Regions from separate parts of the Homo sapiens genome. Here region 2 is linked to region 1. The links are contacts of gene promoters, found by promoter capture Hi-C in blood cells and fetal thymus (Javierre and others, 2016). All regions are on one chromosome and are shown on one strand. Each heading gives the region's core, a stretch centred on a gene start or on the middle of the fragment in contact. The rest is flanking DNA. Distances are from core to core; before and after follow the strand shown.

Evidence for each region. The method cuts DNA at HindIII sites, captures the fragments that hold promoters and counts their contacts. A CHiCAGO score of 5 or more calls a contact.
Region 2: a fragment that was not itself captured here is called in contact with the fragment with the promoter of FYN in region 1 in 3 of 17 cell types (non-activated CD4 T cells, total CD8 T cells and total CD4 T cells); the score reaches 7.9 in non-activated CD4 T cells.

Annotation. Positions count from the first base shown.
Region 1 is chr6:111,871,593-111,876,166 of GRCh38, forward strand. FYN (FYN proto-oncogene, Src family tyrosine kinase) reads right to left here and starts at 1,860. Exons shown (of 14, transcript NM_002037.5): 1 at 1,376-1,860. It overlaps LOC102724646 (a long non-coding RNA gene), which reads left to right and starts at 1,860. Exons shown (of 3, transcript NR_168402.1): 1 at 1,860-2,098; 2 at 4,459-4,574. RefSeq lists silencers at 980-1,379, 1,530-1,779, 1,900-1,989 and an enhancer at 1,432-1,931. The HindIII fragment of the contact is 15,284 bases long and covers 1-4,574 here.
Region 2 is chr6:111,600,071-111,604,644 of GRCh38, forward strand. The region is part of intron 1 of TRAF3IP2 (TRAF3 interacting protein 2); the gene reads right to left. It also overlaps TRAF3IP2-AS1. Among named protein-coding and RNA genes, the nearest start is that of TRAF3IP2, 3.5 kb to the right of the region's middle. The HindIII fragment of the contact is 3,499 bases long and covers 1,576-4,574 here.

The DNA.
Region 1 (4,574 bases), core at 610-3,109:
ACAGTGCCCTCTTAGACTTGAGAGAAGAAGCCATTCAGGCTGCCTCCCTCTTATCAAATAACAATTTAATTCTGATTCAGAAACAAAATTCTTGTGACCCCCACACCAATCTACTCTACCCCAGCTCTTAGTACTTGTTCCCAAAAGGACAGGGGAAAGAACGAGGGGATGGGGAGGCTACCTTAAAAGTAAAGCAACTCTTAAGACTGCTGGGATAACTGTTCCCTTAAATCTAAGAAACACTGCAGCTGCCAGTCAACACTACCGGTCTCTGAACACAGCAAAATGCCGACACCTGCCACCCGGCATCCGGGGGTTCTTTTATTTTTTGGTAAATGTGGCAGGAAAGACTCAGAGAGATCAACTGCTTCATGGGAAAGAAAGGGAAGCCCCAGGGAAGAGAGACAAGAAGCATCGTGCCTATCCTAGGGTACTTTGTGTGTCTCCTCTCTATGCACTGAAAGGGCTCTTTGTGTCACACTCACACTCACACACCCGGCGAGTCTGTGTGATTTATTGGGGGAAGGAGGGGCAAGAAGGGTGATTTTATTATCCCTCTTCCCAGTGAGTCCCAGCACATCTCTGCTGGGCCCAAGCTCGGTGGCCTCCTTCTGGCCCAGTCCCCTCCGCCTGTGGCCGCAGAGATAACAGAGGGGAGGAGCCCAAACAAAAACAGCCATGGATCTAGGGAAGTAGAGAGGAAATCCAGCGAGGGAGCCGGAAAGGAAGGAGAAAAGAGCTGGAGGGAGCAGAGGGGTGGGGGACAGAGGAAGAGGAGGGAAGGCTCCAGCACAGGGGAAAGGGGAAGGGTGGGTGGGTGGTGGCACAGGAAGAGTGAAGGGGAGGATGGGGGAAGTGCAAGGGAGGTGCCAGAAATAGGCAGGAGGATGGGTTGGAGAAGGCGACCGCCGCCGAGGGAGGAGGCCGAGAGGTGGAGGAGTGGGGCAGGGGTTGGGTGGGGAGGGAAGCAGCACGGGGCATCAATTATTAAGTGATTACATCATCCCTGACATTAAAACAACACACACAGCCCCAGTCCCCGCGGGGGGCCCCAAAAGGAGGGCGGGGGCGGAGTCTGGGCCAGCCTCGCCCCCAAGCCAATTCCCATTTTCACCCGGCGCCCGCTTGCGGGCGAGGAAATGGGGTCCCCATCCCCGCGCTGCCTCGGGGCCGCACCCCGCAGGGGTGTCCTCCGGTGCAACCGCGGGAAGACCCCAAGCACCGACTCCCCGGCAGCCCCGCGGAGCGCCCTGGCGGCCAAGGGACCGCAGCACCGGGCCCTGCGGCGGGGGCGGCGTGCGCGGGGGCGCCGGCGGCCGGGCTTCTCCGCAGCATCCCCGAGGCCTCCCGCGACGCATCCCCGCCGCCTGCTTACCTGCGCGGCGCTGAGGCTCCGGAGCCCACTCACATGGTCCTCTCCCCGCCCTCCTCCGGCGCGGCCGAGGCGGCTCCGGGGGGTCCCCGGCGGGCCCGGGAGCCGGTGGGCCTTCCGAGAGCACCGAGGGGGCGGCGCCGGGGTGTCCCCGGCCCGGCGGCCGAATCCCTCCCTGGCGCGGGCGGCGGCCGCCGGGCGGTGCGGCGCGGGCGGCGGCTTTGTGTGCGCCCGGGCGGTCCTCGGTGCGCTGGGAGAAGCGCGGCGCGCCCGGGCGGGAGAGGACGCGCCGCTCGCACAACAACCTCGCCTCTACTCTCGCCGCCGGGCGGCGGGCGGGTCTCGAAGGCCTTCGGCTCGCGGCGACCCCTCCTCCTCGCCCGCGGCAGCCCCCTCCTCGCCGGCTCCGCTCCTGACAGATGGCGCAACTGCAACGACGCGCCGCCGCCACCAGCGCGGCTGCTCGCTGCTACTCTTGCTGATGCTCTGCCCCTCCAGCTCCGGAGGGGAGCGAGGAGGGGGCGGGGCGCGCCTCGAGAGTGACAGGCCCGGCTGCCCTATCAAAGAGCCCCTTGGGAGCTGCGAGCCGCAACCATTGGCGCCTGGGGCGTGGGCGGGACGGCAGTAGGTGGGGCCGCCGAGTGGGTTGAGCGTTACTGTGGCAGCGGGCATCCCAGGGTGCGTGCGGTGCAGGGTGTGCAAGAAAATGCGAGGTTGGAGGAGGAGGTCTGTGTGTTTTTAAGGATTGTGTGGAGTTGTGAGGTGGCGGAGTAGGGCGGGAGAAAGAGCGGAGAGTGTGAACTGCAGTTTCCGCTTTGCGGAAGGTTGCAGCTGCTGCTGCAGATTGGCACCTGCCATTCCCCCAAAACCATGGGAAACTGCCTCGAGACAGGGCTATCTTGCCTTTCTGGTGTCTTTTCATTTGAGGGTGAGAGGATGAAATGGAAAATTGGGCGGTGATAGCAGCGTTTTCTTTGATCAAACTGAAAAGAGTACGGAGCAAAGTAGAATCCTGTCCTGAAACGTGGAAACGCACAACAAATAACAATGAGGAGGAGAAGGAGATTAGGATCATTTTATCAGTCCCCTATTTCTGCGGACACTCATTTATATTTTTTTTCTAGCAAAAGTCTGGAGGAAGTATTACTGAAATAGGGGGAGGGGCCAAGCGGCGACTAAGGAACCTGAAATGACAGAGATTTGTTCGTACATTCCCCGCCCCACCCCCAAAAAACCTCGTTTAATTGTAGTCATTGGTTGTCTTTGGTTTCTCATAACATTCAAACTTCTCATGTTTTTTTCCCCTTCACTGAATCTGAGCTTTTGCTCATATTTCCCTTGATGAAATAATTGCCGGTTTAGTATACAGTTGGGAGTGCATCGGTCTTTATTTCCTATCCAGCTTTTCTATGGCAGGATGTAACTTCATAAAAAGAAACACTTTGGCTTCCTGATTTTCTTTATAGGTAATTCCTGTTTACTGAAAGTTCTGCTTTAAGGCATACTCAGAATCGCTCTCCTTAATGATTTTGGCAAGAACCCTACCTTCCCCCTCAGCAAATCTAATGTTCTAAGAAATTATAAGTGAATCAGCTTCTGCTTCTGTGCTCAAAATCTATAATATTGCCTTTCCGGCCCACTACTTGTTTTTACTGTAGTTTAAAAAAATCTGTCCCTTTTGCTGACTTTTTTCTTTTTGTACACACTACTTTTTAAGAAAAGTTGCTAACATTTATTAAATGATCTGCATCCTATGGAGGAGGAAACTGAGGAAAAGAAAAGTTAAGTAACTAACTCAAGGTGACAGTATACAGAGGTTACTGGATTTTTTTCCTTTTCCTTAAACAAAATGACAAATTAAACCATGTTTAAATTGTGTCTGGAAATTCCATAATCCCAAGAAATGGAACCATAGCTAGGACTAGGATATTTCCATACAAGAGAAAGCCAGCTTCATTTAGCCAAGAATTGCTTATCTCAAGAGCAGAGGCTCTTCGTCCTCAGGGCTAGTCCGCAATGGCTGCTCTGGGTTTATTTGGATTGGGATGCAGAGGCAGTTGGGTAGAGCAATGGTTCTCAAACTTTGACATGTATCAGAAATAACTGAAGGGGCTTGCTTAAACATGAATTGCTGTGTTTAACCACCTGAGGTTCTGATTTAGGGGGTTTGGGATGGTGCCCAAGAATTTGCACATTTAGCAAGTTCCCAGGTGATGTTGATACAGCCAATCTGGAGACAGCACCTTGAGGACCATAGTTCTAGAATTGGGCTGTCCGAGGAGGTAGCCACTAGCCACATGACTGTTAAGTACTTGAAATGTACTTCAGTATTGGAAATTTGGCTACTGCAAATTAGGATGTGCTGTAAATGTAAAAGATGTATTAGATATTTCAGATCAAGCATGAAAAATGGAATGTAAAGTATCCCATTTTAATATTGATTACATGTTAAAATGATAGTCTAAATGTACTGTGCTAAATAAAACATTATTAGAGTTAATTAAATTGTTTCTTTTATTTTTTAAATGCGTCTACTAGAAAATTTTAAATAACCTATGTGGCTCAAGTTATATCTCTATCGGGCAGCACTGGTCTGGAGTTGTTTCTGATTCCAGCTCCACAGTTCACTGTTGGGAGCGCTTTGATGAAGCAAGTCGCTTATCCTTTTTGAACCTTAGTGTCCTCATACGTAAAATGGGAAAAATAGTAAAACTGTTCTCAAACTATTCCGGACAGACTAAGTGTCATATGCTCTCAAGAAAAAAACACTCTTAGGCTATATATCTCCTTGAAATCTCATGTTTAGTTCAATCTATCTTACGCTAAATCTGGAAATCTGGAGTAGGTGGGATAAGTCCTCTCTCTCTCTCTCTCTCTCTCTCTCCCTCTCTCCTCCTCTCTCTCTGTTTCTTCACGAGAAGTCACTTCTTAGTGTCTGCAACTGTAATAGCTTCTTGATCTAATTAGTGGACAAAGAGACAATGTGATTAAAATGACAGATTAACCTGCTCCCATCAAGACTTCATCCTGTTTTTTGTAATTCTTTGCTTACCTACTTTTTTATCTGTTGCCCGTCTTAAATGTAGCTTTAAATGGATTTGGACTCCTCAGGAGGATTTGCTAATGGTCTGAACAAGTGAATAGAGCACTGCAAAAGATTTGTATACTATTCCCGTTTTGATCTTTTCTGCCAATCTCTACC
Region 2 (4,574 bases), core at 2,075-4,574, 270 kb before region 1:
TTCTCCATAGGGGTGTGGTGAGGATAAAGAGTAGATGTAAATAAAGTGTTGAATGTAGAGCCTGGCACATATCAAGCTCTTAAAAAGCAATGGCCATTTTGTTATTTTTACCGCAACGACAACTGCAGTTATTATCTGGCTTCAGAGCTCTCTTTTTAAAAACAGTATTCCCTGGTTTTACACCCAGGTGCTAATACTATTCTATGAAGCTAATGTATAGAGACCATATCTTTTTAACAAACGTGTATATATGAGTCATTTCCGGCACATTTGATACACATCATCTCGTTTGGTCCTTAAAACAAGCCTAGGCCATAAGCAGGGTACGTGTTACCACTTTGCCATTCCTGTTTTACAGAGGCTTAGACACATTGAGAAGCTTTTCCATAGTCACTTAACAAGTGATGGGTGAAGCCAAATCAAGCCTTTAGATCTCCAAGCTCTTTCCATTAAACCATATAAATCACGGGTTGGCAAACTTTTTCTGCAAAGGGGACAGATAGTAAATAGTTTAAGCCTTATGGGCCACATGCTGTGTCTGTTTCATATTCTGCTCCTTTTTTATTTTTATTTTTTTTAAGAAAAGACACCCTTTAAACATATAAAAACCATTCTGAGCAACAGGCTGGTGCTAAAAACAGGTCATGGTAACCATTGGCTCTAGGGTTGTAGTTTACTGTTGATATAGATTGTACACTGATAAGCCAAAATACAAACCTAATGAAACTGACATACTTAAGGAACTTTACTCTTTGTTAGCAATCATTGTTAATATTTATTGAATGGTGACTACGTGGGAAATGCTGTTCCAAGTGTGATAGATATATTAACTTACTTAATCCTCACACCCACTCTAATTTCCTAAGTACTATTGTCAGACTCATTTTACAGACAGGAAAAGCAAGGCATAGAGAAGGTAAGTAACTTTTCCGAGGTCACATGGCTATTAAGTAGCAGAGCTGTGATTCAAATATAAGCGGTTTGGCACCAGATCCTGTGCACTTAACCGCTTGCATCTCGGTTGGGAGCACTGACTGGTTCAGCTATTGGGAGGGAAGAAAGGGGATGGGGAAGCCACATAACCCCTAGGAGATTCTGTAATAAATATGCTTCAGAGCCATTCACCTTGAAGCTGAGGAGGCATGGAAGCAGGCCACCTGTGTTCTGTACAGCATCACCAGGCTGGAAATCTGCCATGGCTTTCCTTCACGCCATCACAAGAGGATACAGATGAGGCTGCAGAGGCATCTTGATTTGAGAAAAGCATTTGACTGGATCTCATTAAATTTTAATCATTAACTGAATTCAAAATAAATTGAAAACTGGTTGACAGAGCACCAACAAAGGGTGATGATAAATGGTGATGCATCTAGAGGGGAGCTATCTTCCAGGGGACAACTCTAAGGCAAGGACGGATGGGATTTAATGAAGGTGTTATGTCCCCAGAAGAAGACAAATAGCACAGCAAGGAACAGAGGAAGGACAGGAGTGAGCAGCCTGAGTAATTAATAAACCATATTAACAGCTCCTCCATAATCAGGCCTTGGTGATCACAACTGCTTGGATTTTTTCTTAAGCTTTCTTTGAGTCAGGAATAGGTTTGAAGCGTCCTAGAGACACACAGCATGAATATTTCAGGTGGACATTAAAAAGAAATCTATAAATTTACAGCTGGGAGGATCCTGAGATCTACTTCGGATCAGAAACTTTCAATTACAAGATTCCCAAGGCCTTACTTCATTCCCCAGAGAGTAATCTTTTTAATAAATGTCCAAAAGTCATGGATTTAAAAAAAAATCTTTAAACTCATTAATGTCCTTTGTTTCCTGCCCAAATGCATGCAAACTTTCATAACACTGGTTTGCTGAGTGGAAGGTTGGTTTTGAGTGAACTGTTTGGCTCAGATTCAAACTCCAATGAACAAATACTTCCAAGTTTACTTGCTGAATTTCCCATACAGAGAAGTTCTTCCACTGGGCTTGCCAGAGGATTTGAAACAGTGGTGAGCCCTGGAAGGAAGGGAATATTTACTGGCCCTTGGACATAAACCCAGCACAGTAAGACTCACATCAGGCTGAAGGCAGTGCAGTATGAACCGACCTGATTTGAGGAAGTTTGCTCTGGGACTCCTCTGAGCTACTAAATGAGGAGGAGAAGGACTAATGGGAACACACTGACTCCATCACATTAGAAGTTATAATAAACATTTAGAGAACAACCTCAAACCAGCCCATGTTTTTTTTTTTTTTCTGTCGTTGTCATTGTTTTGGTTTTTGTTTTTTTGTTTCTTCAGATAAGATGGTTTCTCTAAGCACATGTGTGATCCCTAATTCAGCCACAGCCACGGAGTGAAGGAGAGGAAGGGGTAGAAAGGAAAAACCAAGAGAGGAAGAGGAAGGGAGAGAAAGGAAGGAAGGAGAACGGAAGAGAAGTAAGGAAAGTGGGGAAACGCTGAAGGATTTTTTTGTATTTGCCTTTTATTGGTGTAGGAGAGACACTTATTTACTTGTAATTTGTATGTAGTGCTGGGTATGAGAAGGGGCAGTTGGAAGAGAAGGGAAAGAATGAATATAGGTGAAAGGTAAGAGTGTCATAGGGTAAGCTGGGAGGCCAGGAAGAGTTTGGACAGACAGCTCAGAGTAGGAAGAGAGTTCAGAGCGGGGAGGGAGACCTGTTGACTCTGGGAAGGGGAAAGGGAAAAAACACTGGCATCCTGACTGCAGGGAAACAATGAGGCAGCGGAGAGCAAGTATCCCTCATTGCTGAGGGAGCTGCCAAGACCCCAGGCAGCCTCAGTCTGTGGGGTGCGGCCTGTGGGGTGCGAGGAGAGGGGCACAGGCTGGGAGCTCCGGTCAGTCCTGGCCCTCCTAAAGGGCTTGAGTTCAGCTGCCTTATCAGGGAACCAAGCCAAACCAGCACAGACCTAAGGATCACCCCATGGATGGAAGCCCACCCTTCTTCAGCCAGTCTACAACTCCTGGTATCCGGGAAGGTCTGTGCACACACAAGGTGTGCACACACACACACACACACACACACACAAGGCGTGCACACACAGCTACAGAGTGAGCTGAGTAGTCACAGCCAAGCACATGTGTGCTTCTAGGAGGCCTGCTGGGCACGGGAGGCAAAGACCATAAGTGGGAGAAAGGACAGCCTGAGTTTCATGAACTAAAAATATCTTGGTGACAACGCATTGGGAAGAAACAGGAGAGGCCCGGGGGGCAGCTTCTTGATTCCAGTCCTCAGACACTTTCTCATGGAAAAATCCTTCAGACTGCAGGATTGTTTTGATAAGGAAATGTGATCAAACATTAGGGGTCATTTCATTGGATCTGAAAGGAATTTAAAGTTGAATATGCCTCATCTGTGTTCACTCTTTTTTTTCTGCAGCAGTTGCCTGCAATTCATATATGTTTTTAGAAGCTAATTTAAAATTGCCTGCAGAAGAAAAATGATTTGAATTCAGGATATTCCTGAGATTTCCATTCTACAACGTGTAAAACAAAGATTTCATTTAGACAAACTACCCCACCATAATCTTTCTGAATGCCTGTTGAAGAATGCCTGCAGATATGACTGTCTTCTCCTCTTCTTTTTCTTTTCAGAGCATTTGAAAGTCACTAACTCCTTAATCCCAGGAGAAGCAGGCTTTAACATTTCCTGTCTCTACACCTTCCAAAAATGAGTAACCCTGAGTTAAGAACCTTTCTATCCGACATGTTGGTACATTACTCAGACCTCACTTCTGTTTAACCCACCCCATGCAAGGAACAGAGCAGAGTAACTACATTATCCATCTTTTGATGCTCCATCATGGAGTGACTGGTAGCTGCAGCAGCAGATTAAGAATGACTGTGGTGTGTGGCCTTTAAGGATTAGAGCGAGGCTGGCAAGTGCACAACAGTTAGCCTGCTTTCAGATAATGGTGCATCGTTGTTTGAAAATAAAATCAGGAACTCATTGCAGGTGAAATATCTTGAAATTCCTGTCCTTTCATCCCAGGGGAATAGAGAGAAATGCCTAAAAACATGACACGGACTACACCAGGACATCCCACAGAAACCAAAAGTCCTGCACCAGCCCATCCCAGTCAGCTAGGGCCTGTTTGAACTGTATTGATGGCAAGTAATTGCCAAAAAGAAACAATGACAATTTTTTTTTAAGTCACGGTCTGGAAAAAGTTAAGGATTCTGTGTATCCGCCATCTAATAATGTCTCTAATCACAGTCATCACCCTTACATGGTATTAGGATGTGTTTCATAGTTTCCCTTCCCCTCCCATTAAAGGCCCCACACACAGTGACTGGTCCAGCTGAGGAGTGGTTTCCAGGTCCAGCTACAGCAGTAACTCTGGCTTCTGGAGCTGGGCTTGTCTGCCAGTTCTCTGGCCTGCCTTGACTCTGTGGACAATAGCACAGACTATCCTTCCTGGGTAACCCAAATGGGACATGAACTAATTCGAGAAACTCCCTGTTTTCTCCTATTTGGCTAGAGCCAGTAATAAGGCCTCAATTCCAGGCAGCCCTCCCGCAGAGACACGTGTCTCCCAGCCTTTCGCCCTGACTGCTGCT